Regions from separate parts of the Homo sapiens genome. Here region 2 is linked to region 1. The links are contacts of gene promoters, found by promoter capture Hi-C in blood cells and fetal thymus (Javierre and others, 2016). All regions are on one chromosome and are shown on one strand. The core of a region is centred on a gene start or on the middle of the fragment in contact, and the rest is flanking DNA. Distances in the headings are between cores, read along the strand shown. Region 1 holds the start of INTS14 (integrator complex subunit 14). Region 2 overlaps LOC105370866 (a long non-coding RNA gene).

Evidence for each region. Contacts are between HindIII fragments. The CHiCAGO score rates a contact against its expected background, and 5 or more counts as called.
Region 2: a contact is called between a fragment that was not itself captured here and the fragment with the promoter of INTS14 in region 1, in 7 of 17 cell types (M2 macrophages, activated CD4 T cells, naive CD8 T cells and 4 more). The highest score is 8.3, in M2 macrophages.

The regions. Positions count from the first base shown.
Region 1 is chr15:65,607,347-65,612,601 of GRCh38, reverse strand. It overlaps INTS14 (integrator complex subunit 14), which reads left to right and starts at 1,471. Exons shown (of 12, transcript NM_001394796.1): 1 at 1,471-1,504; 2 at 5,160-5,255. The coding sequence starts at 5,222. It also overlaps a transcript of SLC24A1 not described here. RefSeq lists an enhancer at 1,394-1,553. The HindIII fragment of the contact is 5,572 bases long and covers 1-5,255 here.
Region 2 is chr15:65,847,368-65,852,786 of GRCh38, reverse strand. LOC105370866 (a long non-coding RNA gene) reads right to left here. Exons shown (of 3, transcript XR_932372.2): 2 at 1,830-1,923. Among named protein-coding and RNA genes, the nearest start is that of TRQ-CTG1-4, 19 kb to the left of the region's middle. The HindIII fragment of the contact is 9,163 bases long and covers 1-5,419 here.

The sequences.
Region 1 (5,255 bases), core at 222-2,721:
GCCTGCTCAAGCATAACTAGGTCTTGACATGGTGAGATCAGCCAGGTTGGGGAAAGAAGTTTTGAAGCAAATAGGGCAGTCTGCAGGGCCCTGGCCCCAGTGCTGGCAGGGATATTCCCAGGGACAGGAAAAAACTACAAGCAACTGGCCCCACAATCTCCCACATAACAAGCTGTGAGAAGTCAGACAGATTTGTCTGTTCAGTTCAAAGCATCCTCCTTCCTCGTCCCATCTCCTAATCTCGCCCCATCCTATCAGCTAAAAGAAAAAGGCAAATGCCTGAGGCCTTCTAGAGGCCTTTCTGTACTCACTTTGTAACCTATGTGGTTCCACATTGTTCTTTGAACCGTAACTACCCAGGGGCCTGCTGGCATCCATCTAAGCCTATCTCTAGCTGGGATTCCCTGGCTCCCTACATGGTTAGAAAGAAAGTCACCTCTTGCCCTCTTAAGGACCTCACTGAGGCACAGACTACAATGGAGACACCAGGTGGCCAGAGTGGCAGGCAAGAGCCCATGTTGCCTTACAGGGAAATCTGAGCACGCATGCCTTGTCCAGGGTGAGAGGAACGAGGGCCCTCTGCTTCCCTCAAAGAGGGGATAGGGGAAATAAAGTGAGCATTTGGGCTGAGGAGACCAAGAGGCCAAGTCTTGAGGTAAATTGGGCTCAGGTCAGCTAAGAAGGATATACAAAGCATACCTCAGCCAGGAATTACAGTTTTGGGGTTTTTCCCCCCAAGATTCTCGTGCGTTAGCCTCCCAAGTAGCTGGGATTACAGGCACTCGTTACCATGCCCGGCTAATTTTTGTATTTTAGTAGAGAGCGGGGTTTCACCATGTTTCCCAGGCTGGTCTCAAACTCCTGACCTGAAGCGATCCGCCCACCTTGGCCTCCCAAAGTGCTGGGATTACAGGCCTGAACCACCACGCCCGGCCAGGATTTGTAGTTCAGGAATTGCAGTTTAAAAAGAACAGGAAGAGGATTCTGTCAACCGGTTCAGAGGATACGAGAGAGGGGGCTAAAGAGTGACGAGGAAAATAGCAGGAAGGGTTGGGCTCGTGCACCGACGGGGCCCAGGGGAGTGAGGGGACAAAAGTGTGAAGCGGACACAGAGTCACCGGGCCAGGTGAGGCCCATGGGTCAGTGGGGCAGAAGGGGAAGGAAAGAGCCCGAGAATGGGGAGAGATTCAGGGCAATGCAGAGAGACACGGCAGGAAACCCAGCCAAGGCTCGAGAGAAGTTGGGGATTTGTGGGAGGAGAGGGGTGGCCGCGGATTGGCCATCGCGAAGAGAGGCCGCGCCCCCTAGCGTCCCTCCGGGATGAGCCAGAACCCTGCCCGGGCGACCCTGAAGCTCTCCAAGGACCGCCCCGCCCAGCGCGGAGTGCAGGCGCCGGATTCCCTTCTGTCGCGCGGCCTTATAGTTCCGGCTGTGGCGCGCGGACGGAAAGTTTATGCCGACGGAAAGTTTATGCCGACGGACTGTGTCCGGCGATGGGCACGGGGTGAGTGGGGAGGCCGAGGGCCCGGGACTGCCTTTCGCTGCTTGTTGGGGTTACAGGTGAAGGGGTTATGGGTGAAGAACAACCCAGGGCCAGCGCTTGGCCTTCCCGCCACCGTGGCGGCCGCCCCGCGCTGTCTGTGAGGCGCCAGTTCCGGGGCGCTGCTCCCGGCCTCCCCTCGCTCTGAGGCTCGGGGTCCCCAGCTCCGCGTAAACTGCACGATTTCGCCCTCTGCTCAGCTCCCCTCTGCCCCCTCTTTCCAAGAGAGACTTCCAGATCCCACATTTTCTTGACTGATTTTTAAGGTAAAAATACATCTCCCAGATGTGATTTTCAGTCTGGACTTTTAGAGATGAAATTATATCTGAGAACTGGGGAGGGACTCCCGGAGGCTGACGGGAAAGCCAAAGAGCAGGTGAGGCACTAGAAATTCAGGTAGAATCCTGCTTTGAGAGCGAGACTGCTGAGAATCAGTTCTTTATGAATGAGCTAATTATCACCTTCAGGGAAGAATTACAAACGTCTAGCTGATGGACACTTGGTATTCAAGGCCAAATAGGTGGCTAGGGCCTATTTCTCAGACTGTTCCTGAGAAAGAAGAGCCCTAGTTGTTTGAACAGTACACGTGGGAAGGGGGTGGGGGTGGGAGACTTGGGGGCTCAGAATCCACCCAAGTGAGGAATACATAGTGTTGTGCTCACAAAATTGGTAGACTGTGGTGGGCAGGGATTCCCCCCCACCCAAGACGGAGTCTCGCTCTGTCGCCCAGGCTGAAGAGCAGTGGCGCGATCTCGGCTCACTGCAACCTCTGCCTCCTGGGTTCAAGCAATTCTCCTATTTCAGCCTCCCAAGTACTAGAACCACAGGCGCACGCCACCACATCTGGCTAATTTTTGTATTTTTAGTAGAGATGGGGTTTCACCATGTTGGTCAGACTGGTCTCGAACTCCTGACCTCGGGTGATCTGCCCGCCTCAGCCTCCCAAAGTGCTGGGATTAAAGGCGTGCCTGGCCTTTTTTTTTTTTAATCAGGCCTATACTGCTTGAGTGAACTATCCTTCAGGAACTTTCAGTTCCCTCCTTTACTCCAACCTGAGTACTAAATTGATCTCCCACGACTTTGTAACTGTTAATGAGGTGCATTTGGGAGTCGACACAAATGCATCACTTGGGAGAAAGAGCCAGCTCCAGAGGTGTCTTCAGAGAAGGCAAGACTGCCAGCTGTCATCACTGTCAACAGCAGATTTCACGGGCTGAAAGTGCTTTTTTGTATTTGATCTAAGTCTGTGTAAACTGTTTCCTCCCATTCTCCTAAGAGGTGAGGGCAGTACTCCTCATGATCCTCAACTTGTAAAAAGGCCTCCCTGCATGAATGGGACTACCACAGGAGCTGGGCAGACGTGAGGGAGTCCCCCATATGTCTGCTTGAATGAGGAGAAGAGGAAATGTGTTTCTGGTGTCCAGAGTTAACATTTATAATGTATTTTGCTAAATAATATATGGTATATCTGGTGATTTAGGGGTAGTTCATCAGTTGTTATCAAATTGTTGGGCACCTACTATGTGCCAGTTACTGTGATAAGTTTTGAGGAGACATCATGGGCAAAATGTGGCATGGTCCCTGCCCTTAGTGAGCGTATGTTATGGTCTAATATAGTGTAGTTGAACCAATATTGTGCAGGACCTCACTTTTTTTTTTTCAGTCGGGCCTATACTGCTTGAGTGAACCATCCTTCAGGAACTTTCAGTTTCTTCTTTTACGCCTATGCTTACAACCTGAGTTGTAAACATTGTTTCCATGAACCAGTGTATTCTGAGTTCGAAACAGCCTACTTACAAATGGAATTTTGGCTGGGCGCGGTGGCTCACGCCTGTAATCCCAGCACTTTGGGAGGCAGAGGCAGGTGGATCACGAGGTCAGAAGTTCGAGACCAGCCTGGCCAATGTCGAGGTCAGAAGTTCGAGACCAGCCTGGCCAATGTGGTGAAACCCCATCTCTACTAAAAATACAAAAATTAGCCGAGTGTGGTGACACGCGCCTGTAGTCCTGGCTACTCGCGCCTGTAGTCCCGGCTACTCGGGAGGCTGAGGCAGGAGAATGGCGTGAACCCGGGAGGCGGTGCTTGCAGTGAGCGGAGATCGCGCCACTGCACTCCAGCCTGGGCGACAGATGTCGCAAGACTCCGTCTCAAAAACAAAAAAGAACAAATGGAATTTTAGAATATGACACATTTGCAGCTGGGCACCATCCTTAAACAAGTAATCTGGCTACTGTTAAATGTTTTGAAGTTAATCCCAAAAAAGAAAGTTGTGAACATTAAATTTCTAACCTGTTTATATCCACCTAATCTCTCTAATTGTATATTTGCATTATGATTTTTATGAAGTTGTAAGCAGTGTATAATACAGTTCTGGGGCCTGCTTTTCTCAGTTACTAATGCTTTCTATAAGTATTTCTGATATCTGTAGTACATATGTCATTTATTTATAGTTTTATGATATTTCATCATGTCAGTAGCCTACAGTTTGCTTAATAATAGAGTAGCAGCAGGCTATATACCCATGAGCAGGTCTGTGTATCTGTAAACTTTTTTATTTTTGAGCACCAAAATGTTTTCTTTATGCTAATTCTCAATCCATAATTTTGAATAACTCCATTTGTACATTTTGACTTTTCTACCCAATTTCATGAGATAATTCCAGCTGTATAAATTTTTTTTTTTTTTTTTTTTTTTTTGAGATGGAGCCTTCGTCTGTCACCCAGGCTGGAAGGCTGGAGTGCAGTGGCACGATCTCGGCTCACTACAACTTCCACCTCCTGTGTTCAAGGGATCTTCGTGCCTCAGCCTCCCAAGTAGCCACCATGCCTGGCTGATTTTTGTATTTTTAGTAGAGACAGGGTTTCACCATATTGGCCAGGCTGGTCTCGAACTCCTGACCTCAAGAGATCCGCCCACCTGGGCCTCTCAAAGTGTTGGGATTACAGGCATGAGCCACTGTGCCCGACCTTACATATTCTTTAATTTTGTTCTTTTCCTTCACAGTTGAAGCACCATTGGCCAGTTTATGTACAATGAATACTACTGAGGCTGACAGTTTATTACTTTTGTTATGTGTAATGATTTCCAATTTGTCTAATTTGGTTTATGACTTTACTAGTCCTTTCATTTTTATATTTGGCATTCATTTTACTAAAACAAGAGCACCAACCAACAAAATAATTAAACACATGCAGTAATACTGCAAAAAGGTTGTGACAGTGCCAAAAAACAATGGTTGTTTGTCAAATAGCACCAACATATGACAACTAGAAATGTTCTTCAGTAAATTAAGTGTTAGGAGATGTGGGAGTTTATTAAGTTGCATAAAAGTCGAATGTGTGAAAGTTAAGGGCTACCTGAATTTAGCAGGGCTTTTTTTTTTCCAGTAGATATATTTAGATGGTCCTTGATTTATGGTCACTTAATGGGTGATTCTAAGAGTGGTCCTTACAATGAACTAAGCTGCTCACTTCCCTCTCACTGAGTTCTCTACAGATTATTCCTCACCTCAACTTAAATGGTGTTTGCCTCTGCTAATTTCTGAGAAGTTAGTTAAAGTTATGGTGAAAAATATTATTTTCTCTCCATGACATGTAAGAACGTATTTATTTTCTGCAGCATTTCTTCGTTTATAGCTGTCTGTTTGCATTCTGATTGGGAACACTGGGATCATTTTCATCATGCCGACAGTGGTGGTAATGGATGTATCCCTTT
Region 2 (5,419 bases), core at 2,586-5,085, 240 kb before region 1:
TAGAGATGGGGGTCTCCCTATGTTGCCTAAGCTGGTCTCGAACTCCTGGCCTCAACTGATCTGCCTGCCTCGGCCTCCCAAAGTGCTGGGATTACAGGCGTGAGCCACCATGCCCAACCTCCTTCCTTTTGTTAATAACAGTTTTATTGAGATACAATTCACTTACTAAAAAATCCTCCCACCTTAGCCTCCTGAGTAGCTGGGATTACAGGCATATACCAACACACCTGGCATGACAATTCAGTGTTTTTTAGAAAGCTGAGGTGGATCCTAAAGTCACTAGCAGCTGGAGGCTGTCAACCAGCTACATTCCTTGTAGCTGAATGGCAAGTTTTCTTTTTTCTTAATAGAGTCAGGGCAGGCTGGGTGAGGTGGCTCACACCTGTAATGCCAACATTTTGGGAGGCTGAGGTGGGCAGATGGTTCGAATCTAAGAGTTCGATTCCAGCCTGGGCAACATGGTGAAACCCCATCTCTACAAAGCATACAAAAATGAGCCAGGCGTGATGGCACACTTGTAGTCCCAGCTACTTGGGAGGATGATGTGGGAGGATTGCTTGAGCCCGGGAGGTCAAGGCTGCAGTGACCCAAGATTGCGCCACTGTACTCCAGCCTGGGTGACTCAGGAAGACCCTGTCTCAAAGAAAAAAAAAATAGAGTCAGGGAGTCTCACTATGTTGCCCAGGCTGGTCTGGAACTCCTGGCCTCAAGCAGTCCTCCTGCCTCAGCACCCCTATATTGCCATATTTGTATTGTAATTTTTTTTTTTTTTAGACAGAGTCTTGCTCTGTTGCCCAGGCTAGAGTGCAGTGGCATGATCTTGGCTCACTGCAACCTCCACCTCCCGGGTTCAAGCAATTCTCCTACCTCAGCCTCCCGAGTAGCTGGGATTACAGGCGTCCACCACCACTCCTGGCTAATTTTTGTATTTTTGGTAGAGTTGGGGTTTCGCCATGTTGGCCAGGCTGGTCTCAAACTCCTGACCTCAGGTGATCCACCCACTTCAGCCTCCCAAAGTGCTGGGATTACAGGCGTGAGCCACCGTGCCCAGCCTGCATAATTTTTTACATGTATGTTCTCACACGAACTTTAGGATATCCTCTCCTCCTTTCTTAGATAATTCTTTGTATTCCCCAAAGTGCCTAGCACGATTTCTTGCCCATGGTAGAACCTCATTAAATATGTGTAAAATAAATTAGTAAGTACCTGCCCATTGACTTCAGGACCTTTAGATAATTTGGGGTAGAAAAGTATACAATGCAGTCTTTACAATACAGCCCACAAATGGCAAATGTTTAACAACTGGCTTTTGGGAATACTGATTTGTAGTGTTTGCTAATTTTCAGGTATAAATACTCCTACCATGGTCAATTTCAAGCTGCCCACATAACATTAGCCAGGATGCAAAATTCCTGAAAATTTAACAATCAGTTCTCTCAAGCTGATAACAAGCCACCTCCAGCATGCCACTGGTCCTTACATTCAAAGAGTTTTTGTGTGTGTTTTTCCTTCGGATTTTTATTTATTGAAAGATAAAATTAGAATAATATTAAAGTTTTAAAAAGTAATTCACCTATAATTCAGCTACTCTAAACCCAACATAACTTTATTTTTCTTGTTCTCTTTCAGTCTTTGCTTCACACATGCATATTTTAAGTAGTGTAATTATCCAATTTTAAAAAGTATTGTGACAAATTTTAAACATATGCAAAATAGACAGAATAAAATAATGAACCCCATCTACTAGTACCTAGCACCTTAAAACATTAACCTGTGACCAGTCTTATTCCATCTACATCACCAGCTACTTGCCCCACCCACATACTTACTGTTTGAAACAAATTCTAGACATCATATCCTTCCATCTGTAAATATTTCAGCAGTAACCTTTCCATTTTTCATTCAGCTTTTTGCACTTGTAGCCTAAGGAAGACAAAGACATAAATAATTCAATGAAAACACTTTTAAGTATTCTGATATTGGCAGTAAGGGTTGATTTGGGGGGCAAAGGAAGAGTGTATAAAAGCTACAACATCTGGAGAGCTTTGTTACTGAGTCTTTTCATTTTTATCCCCATCCTGCTTTGTGTGGTAAAGTGCAGTAGAATCCCATTACAATTCCATGCGTTATCATATACACAACAATGTAACATGGACTGAAGTAATCATCAAAACAAATTTAAGGCCAGGCGCAGTGGCTCACGCCTGTAATCCCAGCACTTTGGGAGGCTGAGGTGGACAGATCACTTGAGGTCAGGGGTTCGAGACCAGCTTGGCCAACATGGTGAAACCCTGTCTCTACCAAAAATACAAGAATTAGCCAAATGTGGTGGCACATGCCTGTAATCCCAGCCACTTGGGAGGCTGAGGCACAAAGAATCGCTTGAACCCGGGAGACGGAGGTTGCAGTGAGCTGAGATCGTGCCATTGCACTCCAGCCTGGGCCTGGGCAGCAGAGTAAGTCTCTGTCTCAAAAAAAAAAAAAACAAAAATTATTTAATAGAACTAAATCCTAAAGCAGTTATTAGCCATTCTCTCCAGTGTCAGCTATTTAATTTAATTTAATTAATTAATTAATTTTTTTTTTCTGAGATGGAGTCTCGCTCTGTCCCCCCAGGCTGGAGTTACAGTGGCATGATCTCAGCTCACTGCAACCAATCCTCCTGCCTCAGCTTCCTGAGTAGCTAGGATTACAGGAGTGTGCCTCTACGCCCAGCTAATTTTTGTATTTTTAGTAGAGACAGGGTTTCATCATGCAGGCCAGGTTACTCTCGAACCCTTGACTTCATGATCCACCCATCTCGGCCTCCCAAAGTGCTGGGATGACAGGCGTGAGCCACCACACCTGGCCAACGTCAGCTATTTTAAAAGACTTCACTATAAACCCCGTTGGACAAATTTTATTTTTTACATTTTCCATCTGATTATTCATTGATCAGACATTTTCAGAGAGATAGATTCTTGTCTCCTTCCCTCATCCCATTATTTCATGCTGTAGTGTCATGAATGGTGTTACCCCTCAACCCCTGAGGGAAGATCGGTATAGAGGAGACAGTGTTGAAGTGCAGCAGCAAATAGAAATTTGACAAACACGAAATCCTCATTATTCCCATATTTCCCACATAAGGCATTTGACATTCTGGTGGAATAACTCACCAGTGTAAACTAGGGGACCAGAGACTGCCCTTGTTAGTTTTCTAACCCCATTGGACTATGAGTTACAATTCTAGGCACGTATACTATCTTTTACCCTGGCTCTACCCTGTAAGGAAGATATTATGATGACAAATTTGCAGATGAGAAAACCAAGATTCAGAAAGATGTACACAAGAGCAAACGCTTAAATGTGGTAGAGCCAGGATCTGAACCCTAGCGCATCAGTTAGGGCTATTTTGGTTGCAAACAAAAAGAACTGGCTAAGTTCAGCCCAAAAAGGGGGCCTTAGTCAGAGGGATATTGAGCAGCCCCCAGAATGAATAGGAAGCTGAAGGAGACATGCTAGAAGAAGGGCTGCAGGGATGACCCCATCCACAGTCTGGAAAGAGTGAACTCAATCTGTGACATTTCCAGTCACCAATTCTGTCTCATGTCAGAGTCCCACATTCTCTCCCCACAAGATGTAAGTATGCTTCATTATGGCTTTTAAAAATTGTGGTAAAAAATATACAACATAACTTTTGGGTTTGGTTGTTTGTTTTGAGACAGGATCTCACTCTGTTGTGTGGGCTGGAGTGCAGGGGCACAATCACGGCTCACTGCAGCCTTGACCTCTCAGGCTCAAGCCATCCTACCATCTCAGCCTCCTGAGTAGCTGGGACTACAGGTGCACACCACTACACCCAGCTAATTTTTTATATATATATATTTTTTGTAAAGACGAGGTTTTGCCATGTTGCCCAGGTTGGTCTCAAACTCCTGGGCTCAAGCCATCCACCTGACTTAGCCTCCCAAAGTGCTGGGATTATAGGCATGAACCACCATGCCCAGCAGTATGTATATAACATAACTTTACCATTTTAACCATGTTTAAGTGTACAGTTCAGTGGCATTAAGTACATTCACATTAGCTTTGCAATTTCATTTTTGGCCTTTAGTTATACCTTTCAAATCATATATCTACAGAATCTGGGGAAGAGAGAGATCTTTACATACTAAGGTATGTAAATACAACTACAGGAACTTACCAAACACAAAATTAGGGAAATAGAGAAAAATTGATTGGAGGTAAGAGAGAGAAATAAACAGAGCAGGCAAGGCCCTCCTCTCTGGCACTCAGTGAATGTACACCCCAAGTGAACAAGAAGTGTAAACCTCAGGCACCCACAGGAACCTTCTGCTTCTCATAGTCGGGCATCTCTCCAGGCTGAGGGGGATTCTGAACTTAGATTTGTATTTTGCTATAATACTGTACCAAACACAAACAAGTACTTCTCCAACTATTAATAGTACCTGAAAAAACAATGATCTGTCCTAATGCTAGGGGAAAAACTGGGTGAGAGTTAAAAGATTGGGACAGCTTGAGGCCTTCCTAAAAGATTTCCAAAGGCAATTTTTATTATATTCAATGTTCATCTATATGCTGACCTTTGGACTTCACTCAGGTGAGATACTATCCCCTGTACATTTGCCTGGATTGCAGTAGTAGAGCATTAACTTATACCAAAAATCATGACATTGTAAAAAAAAAAAAAATGGTGAGTGGGAGTACAGGAAAAGAATGACAGACAGAAAGAAGTTCTTATTAGAGAATTTATGGGTTTCCTTGTTTGTAGGACACTCTATAGCAGCACTGTCCAACAGAAACATAATATAGGCCACATAAGTAATTTTAAATTTTCTTGTAGCTGCTGTTTTTGTTGTTGTTGTTGTTGTTGTTTTAATTACACCAGAGCTGCCAGTTAAAGCCACATTATTTTTTAAAGGAAAAAGAAACAGGTGAAATTGGCCAGGTGCAGTGCCTCACACCTGTAATCCCAGCACTTTGGGAGGCTGAAGCAGGCAGATCACTTGAGGCCAGGATTTCAAGACCAGCATGCAGAGGCCAACATGGCAAAACCCCGTCTCTACTAAAAATACAAAAATTAGCTGGGCGTGGTAGTGCATCCCTGTAATCCCAGCTACTCAGGTAGCCGAGGCAAGCAAATCTCTTAAACCTGGAGGCAGAGGTTGCAGTGAGCTGAGATCGCACCACTGCATTCCAGCCTGGGCGATAGAGCAAAACTCTGTCTCAAAAAAAGAAAAAAAACAGGTGAGACAAACAATATAGTTAATTCAACTTAATATATATCTAAATTTTTTTTTTTTGAGACAGAGTTTCACTCTTGTTGCCCAGGCTGGAGTGCAATGGCGCGATCTCGGTTCACTGCAACCTCCGCCTCCCAGGTTCAAACGATTCTCCTGCCTCAGCCTCCCAAGTAGCT